Regions from separate parts of the Homo sapiens genome. Here region 2 is linked to region 1. The links are contacts of gene promoters, found by promoter capture Hi-C in blood cells and fetal thymus (Javierre and others, 2016). All regions are on one chromosome and are shown on one strand. Each heading gives the region's core, a stretch centred on a gene start or on the middle of the fragment in contact. The rest is flanking DNA. Distances are from core to core; before and after follow the strand shown. Region 1 holds the start of CLDN1 (claudin 1). Region 2 has its middle 40 kb from the start of SNAR-I.

Region 1 (5,738 bases), core at 2,386-4,885:
ACGTCAGTGATTTTGTCTCTCTGATTGAGCCTGACATCATGGTGAGAGTGCTGGGGAAGCTCACAGCCACCAATACTCATTAAGCACACCTACACACATGTGGATTCATGCAAAGCAAGTTAAACAGGCTAGAGGAGCTTATAAACAAATTACAGAATCTCAGGGTTCGGTGAGATTGAGAGAGAGTCTAGCCTAACCTCCCATTTGTCTGGTGCTTGGATCTTCCCTACAACATTCCTTCAAAATGCTTATTTATTCTCTGCTTGCACACCTCCCACCATGCAGCCTCCTACAGCAACTCAATCTTTGGACAGCTCTAGCTATTAAAGTCAAGTAAGAAGAAGCATTTAAGCAAGCACATAAAATTGGCGCGAGCTTCCTAAAAGTTTGAGAATTAGATGAAAACAAGGCGAGAGGTACAGGTGAATCAAGAAAAGTCTACTACAACTGTATCTGGCACTTTTTGTATATTCCAACTTTCAGCTACAAGAATCCCCAGGGTCAATAAAATCACATACTTTGGATGAAATGGAAATTGTATCAGCCATTATAAAACTACAATACACAATGTGACATTTGTTTCCCCAGGAAGTGCCTCAGTTACATTTTCATAAACCGCTTGGCAAGAACTACCTAAAAGAAGAAGCCTTGCTCTATCTCATTTTGTATTTACTGTATACACTATTAGCACACTGTATTCCTTCAGATACTTTATGAAGGTCATATGCTTTTTATGACCTACCCTACATAAAGCAGGGAAACAACAGATTTTAATACTTCCCGTGCTAAAGCCCTGCATCTGGCCGGGAAGACAAGTGTGCTCTACTGGGAAAGACGGCAAGGTACAATTTCGGGAAACCCACAGCTAAGCTTTTCACCTAAACACACTTAATGAAATGCAGCTTTTTTCTGAGTGATACTGCTTAAATATACACACATAACCCTTTTCATCTCTACATGTAACAAAACTGTACCAAAACCAGCCAATGAATCACCATCCCAGATCTCTACAGCTGGTGGGCGTAAACACCACTGCTCAGGCAGAGAAATGAAGTAAGGTTTCCTGGGTTCTATCCAAAAGCATCCCGTGAGTCACGGCAGGTGAGAGGAGAACACCTGTGAGTCAAGGGTCCCTCTTCTGAGAATGGGTTTTGAGAGAAAGGCCTAAGCCACACCTTGGATAAACTATGGCTTTAAGTAAAATAAAAGTGGATTCTGATCTGGAGTTTTAAAAAAATAGGAAGACATCTCTAAAGTGTGTGTGGGGGGGTAGGTATTTAGTCCTTTCACCCTAGTTTTAAAAACTGTAATAACTACATTAACCAAAAAATGAAAGTAAAACATTTTAACACATTATCATGTGTAAGGATGATCCATTTGAGTATTTACAACATAGATCAATCTGATTTCATTTGGTCATTTCAGGAAGTTAAAAGAAAACCTATTTAAAGATGTTGAAAAGGAACTATTTTGATCAGAGGAATAAAACTGACAGTGAGACCTCTCTGGAATTGTCCTTAGAAACCTCCACCTGCCAATTCCTTAACGTGGTACCTAAAATGCCTGACACCGTTTCCTTAAATATATTTATCTTTCCATGGAGAAATTCAATAATTATTACCAAATTTTTCATTTTATAAGTACAAATATAACCCCTGAGGGCAATGAGCAACACATAATTACTAAACTTATGGATTGGTTTTGGTGTAAAGAAGTCCTGATATGAGAACCTTCAAAAGCTGAAATAATAACACTCAAAACAACCATGCACATTGACTGAGCAAATGCCACAGGTATTCAAGGTGTTCAAACAGATTTGGAACAGGTTTAATAACTCTAAACTATATGGCTTTTGATATACACTATTAAAAGTTGTCCCTTGATAGGAGGTAGACAAAACAAGTTAAGTAAACTTGAACAATGCCAACACTTTTCACCCTTAGCATGCAATGGGGGCCAGTGGGCAGTCACGTTCATCTAGGCAAAGACTAAGGGATCTTTTCTTCAAGTGAGTTAAAGGGCATAACAGACACATGATATAAGACAATTAATGTGATTTCTCAAGGAAGATACTCCAGCCGTGAATCATTATTATCTAAGTAAATGGGAATTTAATGACTTTTCGGACAAGGAACTCGAAACCTTTAATTTAAAAAACAAAGTAAAACAATTATCCTATTATCCTTCTTCCCACCATCCTTAGAAATATGTCTCTCTATACAATCCTTTCCAGTTTTACAGGGGGTCACTGAACATCCATTACACAGAAATTTCTTTGTGGAAGATGGAAACCTAAGGAAGACCCACCTCTTCTTTCTCTCTCACTGCCTTCCACTCCCAGCTGACCTCTGATTTCATCAGCTATGACTATTTTGCTGCATTTCCCTTCAGTGCCTTTACTTTTTTCTTTGTATTATGTTGCGCAGGTTATTTAGAACCTTTCTTGTCAGCCTTTCCCCACCTGCCACCAACCTTCTCTTTCCAAGATAGCACTACACCGTCAGCCTCTACAGAAGACCTTGGGTCTGAAAATTAAAACTTCGGGGGAATCTCAAGCAGCTTCTCCAAAGAGTCTTGCAAGGGGCCTCCCTGCACTAACTGGATCTTATAAATTAAAAGAATCAACCTCAAGCATAAGCAGAAGACACTTAGATAGGACATTTCCAGTAGGAATGTAACTTTTACTATGAAAAAATCATATTAAAGGTTAAAAAGTTATATCTAATACTTGAGGATTATTTATTTAAGCGTGCACACTTGAGAAGTTACCAGGCTTCAAACTTTTTCAGTCATCCCATTTTCTTGTCTGAACTCTACCAATCCTCAATTTACCCCAAATCTCGGAATGCCTAGGAGAGGTCTAAGAGCTCAAGTTCAAGTTTGGCCTTCACTCCCTCAACTCGAACCACCAGCATAGGAATTTAGGATGAAGCCACACCTAGAGTGGCAGAAGTGTCACCCAGGGAGTTAGAGGCAAAACTAGAGCTTATGCCTGGGCGTCGCTTTCCTCAAACCAGGATTCTCTTCATTTCCTTATGACAGAGCACATGATCAGAAGACTTGATCAACTGAAGACTGATAACCATGGAATCACACAACAGAATGAGCCCATAAGGGAGCTGCAGGGGGACTGGGGCCTCTGGACGGCCGCTGTGAGGTGGGGGTGCACTCACTGCTCAGATTCAGCAAGGAGTCAAAGACTTTGCACTGGATCTGCCCGGTGCTCTGCGACACGCAGGACATCCACAGCCCCTCGTACATGGCCTGGGCGGTCACGATGTTGTCGCCGGCATAGGAGTAAATCCTCCACTGGGGCAGGGCAGTGCTGACGATGGCGCCGATCCATCCCAGGAAGGCGAGAATGAAGCCCAACAGCTGCAGCCCCGCGTTGGCCATGACTCGCTCGGGCGCCCGCGCTGGCTCAGGGGTGGCAGGTGCAGAAGGCGGAGAGTTTGCAGGTGGGCAACCCGGACTCCCGAAGGTGGCTGGGCCCCGCGGAGGAAGTTAAGGCGGGGAGCCCTGCTCGCTGCGCCGCCGCTGGAGAAGCTCTGGGTCGGGGTTGGGGTCCGCGCCCGGGGCGGCGCTGGAGTCTGGATACTAGAAGCTGCGGTTGCTCCCAGGCTCGGGAACTGAGACGCAGAACCGCTGGGCGCCGCGATTTAAAGCAGCTCCGCCCGCCTCAGCCCCGGCAGCCGGGGAGCGCCCCCTGGCGGTTTCAGGGCGGCTCACCGAGAGGGCGCCGGGAGCGCCCGGTTGGGGAACGCGCGGCTGGCGGCGTGGGGACCACCCGGCAGGACCAGGCACCAGAGCTGCGTCCCTGCTCGCTTTCTCTCGTGGATCTTCTCGCTCCTGTAAGGCGTTTCACGCTTTTCATTCATTCACTCCAATTATCCAAAAATTACTATGCACTGTACTTGTAAATCCTAACACAAAGATGAAAAAATGATCCTTCAAGAGCTGCAGTTTTAGGTTTAATACTTTTTTCCCAATATCTTATTAAAAGGCATTTCTACCCAACTCCGCGTCTCCTCCCCCATCACACCATTTCTCTCTCCTTTGCTTGGCTTCCTCCCCCTTCTTTCCTCTCTCTGCTCTCTTCTGTCAAGGTCGTTCCATCACTTGTCTCTGCAAGGAGCCTCAGAGACTTTTACACTCTACAGATTGGGAAACAGACCCAGAGAGCAACATGATTTACACACACACACACACACACACACAGACACACTCACGCACGGAGCATATCCAGTACTTGGCTCCCCTCCCAATCTGCTTTCCACTACATATCAAGTTGACCCAAAATATCCCCTTTGATCTATGATTGTCCTTTTTGATGTATTATTGTCCTTATGAAACTGCAGGCTAGCAGCCCTTCCCCGCCAAACACCAACCTCCTCCCCACAGCAGTTATGTCTTAGAGCAGCAATTCATTATCAGAGGGACCTGGCCAGTGCCCCGCTCTCCCTGAAAGGTGTTAATTTTGTGAGTTATCAAATGTTGTTCGTCGCAGGTGAGGACATGTAAACAGCGTTTCCCCAGTGGCAAAAGGACTGGGCTGGAGTTGAGGAAGTCTGGGCTCTGGTTCCAGCTTTTACTGTGACTGGCTATCTCACCCCTCCGGTTTCGGTCTCGCTGGGACTGTAGTTTCCCTCTATGTTTCTCCAAAGCTTCCTTCTTTGTAGTTAGTCAGAAGTGCTGTTGTGGTTAGGAATCATTGAAATGTTTTTCCAACTGCTTTTTGTGTGTGGTGCGAGTGTGGTGGGAGGGGAAGCTTCTATGGTTTTAGTAAAAACAGAAGCATCTTGGAAGCAGAAATAAACATATTAAGGATAAAATAAGATATACCCTTATATACCATGGCAACTGCTAGTTGGTGACAGAGAAGGAAAGGTGCAAATTCTCAAGGTGGGAATGGGAAGAAAGGCCAAGCCCCACCACCTTCATTTCCACCTGGCTCTCCCTGGATGCCTTTCATGTAGGCTTAAAACTAAAGGACTTGGCCGTGCTAGGATTTAGGGACAAGCAATGAAGAATGTAAGACAGGAGCTAGATGAAGACAATTAATTTGGACTGAGATTAACACAGTGAATACTGTCTTTCTCCTATCAGCTGTTTAGGACAAGACCATGTTCGTGTTGTATCCCAGGGTTAGGGCCTGCAGTCAGTACTACTGTCTAGGTCTCAGTGGATGTTCTGTGGGTGCCTGTCAGTGTGGATGAAGATGTATCAATCACATTTGATTTTGTAAAAATTCCCTGATCAGAGAAGGCACTGGAATTTGCTGCAGGACTAGAGCAGTACCATGTGAATCATATAATCTCATTTTCTTCTTTTTTTTGTTCCAAACATTTAAGAATTAAAAGTATTATTAAACACCCGGGCACGGTGGCTCAGGCCAGGCGCAGTGGCTCACGCCTGTAATCCCAACACTTTGGGAGGCTGAGGCAGGCGGATCACTTGAGATCAGGAGTTCGAGATCAGCCTGGCCAACATGGTGAAACCCCGTCTCTACTAACAATATGAAAATTAGCCGGGCATGGTGGTGGGCGCCTGTAATTCCAGCTACTTGGGAGGCTGAGGTAGGAGAATTGCTTGAACCCGGGAGGCGGAGGTGGCAGTGAGCCCAGATCGTGCCACTGCACTCCAGCCTGGGCAACAGACCAAGACCCCATCTCAACAAATAAATAAATAAATAAATAAACAAATAAATGACATTTTCTGCGTTCAGTAAATATATTTGT
Region 2 (5,738 bases), core at 1,174-3,673, 590 kb after region 1:
TAAATTATTGTTAACTGTAGTCACCCTAGTGTGCTACAGAACACCAGAATTATTCCTTCTACCTAGGTAAGGAACTCCATGCATTCCCCAGGCAACTACTCATTTGCTACTATAGATTAATTTGCATTTTTCTAGAATTGTATATTAATGTAATAATAGAATATATATTGTTTGTTGGTCTGGCTTTTTTCTTCCATGTTGTCATATGTGCCATTTTTATTGCTAAATGATAGTCTACTAAGTACTGTTTCAAATGTATACACTGCAATGTGTTTATAAATTCATCTGCTGTTAGATAGGGGATGGTTTGTGCGTACGTTTTTATATGGAAATATAGTACAAGTGGAGCAGCAAAATCATGTAAGTGTATGTTTTAAGAATGTCCAAAAAACCATCAAACTATTTTACAATTGGTTATAGCATTTTATACTCCCACAAAAAATATATTACAGTTCCACTTACTAATATCCTTGCTATCATTTAGTCAGATATACAATTTTAGTTATTTTAGTAGGTGTGTAATGGTATCTCATTGTGGTTTAAATGTTTATTTTCTTACTAATAATGAATACATTTTTCTGTGCTGATCTGCCAGCTGTATATCCTATGCTAAAGTGTCAATTGAAGTTTATTGCCCACCTTTAATTGTGTGCTTGTTTCCTGAATATTGAATTTAGAGAATTCTTATATCATTTATGAACTGCAAACATTTTCTTACTGTCTGTAGATTTTTTTCCATTTTCCAAACCATGTTTTTCTTTCTTTCTAACTTTTATTTTAGTTTCAGGGGGTATATGTGCAGGCTTGTTACATGGGTAAATTGCATGTCATGGAAGCTTTTTGTACAGATTATTTTGTTACTCAGGTAAGGAACATTGCACCTCATAGGTGGTTTTTCAGTTCTCAACTGCTCCTACTCTCTACCCTTAAGTAGTCCCTGGTGTCTATTGTTCTCCTCTTTGTATCCACATGTACTCAATGTTTAGCTCCAACTTATAAGTGAGAATGTGTAGTTGGTTTTCTGTTTTTGCATTCATTTGCTTAGGATAATGGCCTCCAGCTCCATCTCTGTTGCTGAAAGAACATAATTTAATTCTTTTTATAGCTGTGTAGTGTTCCATGATGTGTATGTACCATATTTTCTCTATCTAGTTCATTAAAGGCATCTAGGTTGATTCAATGTCTTTGTCTTTGTAAATACTGCAATAATGAACCTATGTGTATATGTGTGCATGTGTCTTCATGTAGAACAATTTATATTTATTTGGGTATATACCTAGCAATGAGATTGCTGGGTAAAAAGGTGGTACTCATTTAAACTCTTTCAGAAATTTCCAAACTGTTTTCCACAGTGGCTGAACTAATTTACATTTCCATCAGCAGTGTATAAGCTTTCTCTTTTCTCCACATCTTCACCAGCATCTGTTATTTCTGGACTTTTAAAGAATAGCCATTCTGACTAGTATGAGATGGTATTATTGTGGTTTTGATTTCCACCCCTCTGATGATTAGTAATGTTAAATATTTTTTCATTTGTTTGTTTGCTGCATGTATATCTTGTTTTGAGAAGTGCCCATTCATGTCCTTTGCTCATTTTTTAATGGGGTGTTGGTTTTGCTTGTTATTTTGTTTAAGTTTCTTATAGATACTGGATATTAGACCTTTGTCAGAAGCATAGTTTGCAAATATTTCCCCTCATTCTGTATGTTGTCTGTTTACTCTCCTCCTAGTTTCCAATGCTGTGCAGAAGCTTTGTAGTTTAATAAGTCCTACTTGTCAATTACCGTTTTTGCTGCAATTGCTTTTGGAGTCTTTGTCATGAAATCTTTGCCAAAGGCTACGTTCAGAATAATATTTCATAGTTTTCTCTTCCAGGGGTTTTATAGGTTTGGGTTTCATATTTAAATCTTTAATCTATCTTAAGTTGATTTTTATATATGGTGAAATGGACGGGTCCAGTTTCAGTCTTCTGCATATGGCTAGCCAGCTCTCCCAGCATCATTTATTGAATAGGAATTCTTTACCCCACTGCTTGTTTTTGTCAACTTTGTCAAAGCTCAGATATTTTCCCTTGTGTGGGTTTATTTCTGGGTTCTCTAATCAGTTTCATTTGTCTATGTGTCTGTTTTTCTACCAGTACTATGTTGTTTTGGTTAGTGAGGCCTTGTAGTACATAGTTTGAAGTCATGTGGTGTGATGTTTCTGGTTTTGTTCTTTTTGCTTAGGATTGCTTTGGCTATTTGGGCTTTTTTTGTTCAATATGAATTTTAAAATTGCTTTCTCTAATTCTGTGAAAAATATCATTGGTAGTTTGGTAGAAATAGTATTGAATCTGTAAATTTCTTTGGGCAGTATGGTCATTTTAACAGTACTGAGTCTTCCTATCCATGAGCACGGAATGTGTCTTCACTTGTTTGTGTCTTTTCTGACCTCTTTCAGCAGTGTTTTGTAATTCTTATTGTAGATATTGTTGCCTTCCCTGGTTAGCTGTACTCTTAGGTATTTTATCATTTTATAGCTATTGTGAATTGGATTCCATTTTGGATTTGGCTCTTAGACTGAACATTATTGGTATATAAAAATGTACTAAATTACGCACATTGATTTTGTATTCTGAAACATTGCTGAAGTTGTTGATGAGATCTAGGAGTCCTTGGGCAGAAACTATGTGACTTTCTAGGTATAAAATCACATTGTTTGTATAAGTTTGAGTTTCTCTCTTCCTATTTGTACATGTTTTATATCTTTCTCTTGCCTGGTTGCTCTGGATAGGACTTTTAGTTCTATGTTGAATAGCAGTGCTAAGAGTGGACATGCCTGTTTTGTTCTGGTTCTCAAGGGGAATGCTTTCTACTTTTTCCCATTTGGCGTGATGTTGACTGTGGGTTTGTCATAGAAGTCTCTTATTTTTTTGAGGTACTTCCCTTTGATATGTAGTTTATTGAGAGATTTTAACATGAAAGGATGTAGAATTTTATCAAAAACCTCTTCATCATCTATTGAAATGATTATGTGGTTTCTGTTTTCAATTCTGCTTATGTGGTAAATTATATTTATTGATTTTCATGTGTTGAACCAGTCTTGCATCCCAGGAATAAAGCTTACTTGATTGCATTGGATCAGCTTTGCGATGTGTTACTGGTATCAGTTTCCTGATACTTTGTTGAAAATTTTTGAATCTGGGTTCATCAGGGATATTGGTCTGATGTTTTTGGTAGGAGTCCTTCCTCCCCATTTTTTTTTTTTTTTTTTGGAATAACTTCAGTAGCATTGGTACCAGCTCTTCTTTATAAGTCTGGTAAAATTTGGCTGTGAATCTGTCTTGTCCAGGGCTTTTTCTTGTTGGTAGGTTTTTTATTATTGATTCACCTTTGAAACTCCTTATAGTCTGTTAATGATTTTCATTTCTTCCTGGTTCACTCATGAGAGGTTATATGCTTCCAGGAATTTATCCATCTCTTCTAGGTTTTCTAGTTTGTCTCCAAAGTGGTGATCATTATAGCCTCTGAGGGTTTTTTGTATTTCTGTGGGGTTGGTGACAATGTCACCTTTGTCATTTTTAATTCTGTTTATTTGGATATTCTCACTTTTTAATTTATTAATCTAGCTAGCAGTCTATCAATGTTATTTATTCTTTCAAAGAACCAACTTTGGGTTCATCTATCCTTTTTATACATTTTTGTGTTCAATTTTGTTCAGTTCAGCTTTGATTTCTGGTTATTTATTTTCTTCTGCTATGTTTGGGGTTGGTTTCCTCTTGTTTTTGTAGTTTATCTGGATGCAATATAAATGTTATTTTGAGGTCTAACTTCTTCATATAGGCAATTAGTGCTATGAACTTTCCTCTTAACACTGCTTAGCTGTGTCCCAGAGATTCTATTGTATTGTATCCTTGTTTTCATTAGTTTCCAAGAATATTTTTTTAATTTCTGCATTAATTTCATTCTTTACCCCAAAGTCATTCAGGAATATGTTGTTTAATTTCCATGTAATTGTTTGATTTTGAGAGTTCTTCTTGGTATTGACTTCTCTTTTAATTATGCTGTAGTCTGAGAGTATGCTTGGTATGATTTTGGTTTCTTTAGAATTTTTGAGAATTGCTTTATTGCTGAGCATGTGTTTGATTTTCGAGTACGTGCCATGTGCAGATGAGAAGAATATATATTCTGCTGTTGCTGCATGGAGTCTTCTACAGATGTCTATTAGGTCCTTTTGATGAAGTGTCGAAGTTTAGATCCTAGATATGTTTGTTAGTTTTCTAATTCATTGATCCATCTAACACTGTCAGCGTGCTGTTGAAGTCTCCCACTATTATTGTGTAGTTATCTAGGTCTCTACATGTCTCTATAAGAACTTGTTTTACAAATCTGGGTGCTCCAGCATTGGGTGCATATATATTTAGGACCGTTAATTCTTCTTTTCGAATTGAACCCTTTATCATTATGTAACGCCCTTCTTGGCTTTTTAAAAATTTTTTGTTGGTTTAAAGTCTGTTTTTCTGAAATAGGAATAGGAACTCCTGCTCTTTTTGTTTTCAGTTGGCTTGGTAGATTTTTCTCCATCACTTTCCTTTGAGCCTATGAATGTCACTTCATGTGATGGGTCTCTCGAAGATAACATAGAGTTGGGTCTTGCTTCTTTATCCAACTTGCCAATCTGTGCCTTTTAAATGGGATGTTTAGCTCAACATTTAAAGTTAATATTGATATATGCGCATTTGATCTTGTCATCATGTTATTACCTGGTTGTTATGTAGACATGTTTTTGTCTTTGCTTTATAATGTTAATGGTGTATGTACTTAAGTGTGTTTTTATGATGGCTGGTAATAGTCTTTCATTTCCATATTTAGCACTAACTTAAGGACTTTTTTTAAAAGAGGTCTCATGGTTTCCTTAACATTTGCTTAACTGAAAAGATTTCATTGCTTCTTTGCTTATAAAACTTAGTTTGCCTGGTTATAAAATACTTGGTTAGAATTTCTTTTCTTTGTGGATGCTGAATATAGGCCTTCAGTCTCTTCTTGCTTGTAGGGTTTCTGCTGAAAAGTCTACTTTGAGCCTGATGAAGTTCCCATTGTAGGTAACCTGCCCTTCTCCCTTCTCTCTAGCTATTTTTAATATATTTTCTTTTTCTTTTCTTTTTTCTTTCTGAGACAGAGTCTCACTCTGCTGCCCAGGCTGGAGTGCAGTAGAGCTATCTCAGCTCACTGTAACATCCACCTCCCGGGACTGCAACCTCCGCCTCCTGGGTTCGAGCAATTCTAGTGTCTCAGCCTCCCGAGTAGCTGGGATTATAGGCATGTGCCACCACTCCCAGCTAATTTTTGTATCTTTAGTAGAGTCAGGGTTTCACCATCTTGGCCAGGCTGGTCTCCAACTTTTGACCTCATGTGACACACCTGTCCTTGCCTCCCAAATTCCTGGGATTACAGGTGTGAGCCACCGTGCCCAGCCTTTAATATGTTTTCTTTCACATGGCTTTGGAGAATCTGATTGTCAGGCCTCTGAGCCCAAGCCAAGCCATCGCATCCCCTGTGACCTGCACATATATGCCCAGATGGCCTGAAGTAACTGAAGAATCACAAAAGAAGTGACTATGCCCTGCCCCATCTTAACTGATGACATTCCACCACAAAAGTGTAAATGGCCGGTCCTTGCCTTAAGTGATGACATTACCTTGTGAAAGTCCTTTTCCTGGCTCATCCTGGCTCAAAAACACCCCCACTGAGCACCTTGCG

Evidence for each region. Contacts are between HindIII fragments. The CHiCAGO score rates a contact against its expected background, and 5 or more counts as called.
Region 2: a fragment that was not itself captured here is called in contact with the fragment with the promoter of CLDN1 in region 1 in 1 of 17 cell types (neutrophils); the score reaches 6.4 in neutrophils.

The regions. Positions count from the first base shown.
Region 1 is chr3:190,318,811-190,324,548 of GRCh38, forward strand. CLDN1 (claudin 1) reads right to left here and starts at 3,636. Exons shown (of 4, transcript NM_021101.5): 1 at 3,174-3,636. The coding sequence starts at 3,396. It also overlaps a transcript of CLDN16 not described here. RefSeq lists a silencer at 3,627-3,786. The HindIII fragment of the contact is 3,794 bases long and covers 869-4,662 here.
Region 2 is chr3:190,914,670-190,920,407 of GRCh38, forward strand. No RefSeq gene overlaps it. Among named protein-coding and RNA genes, the nearest start is that of SNAR-I, 40 kb to the left of the region's middle. The HindIII fragment of the contact is 1,350 bases long and covers 1,749-3,098 here.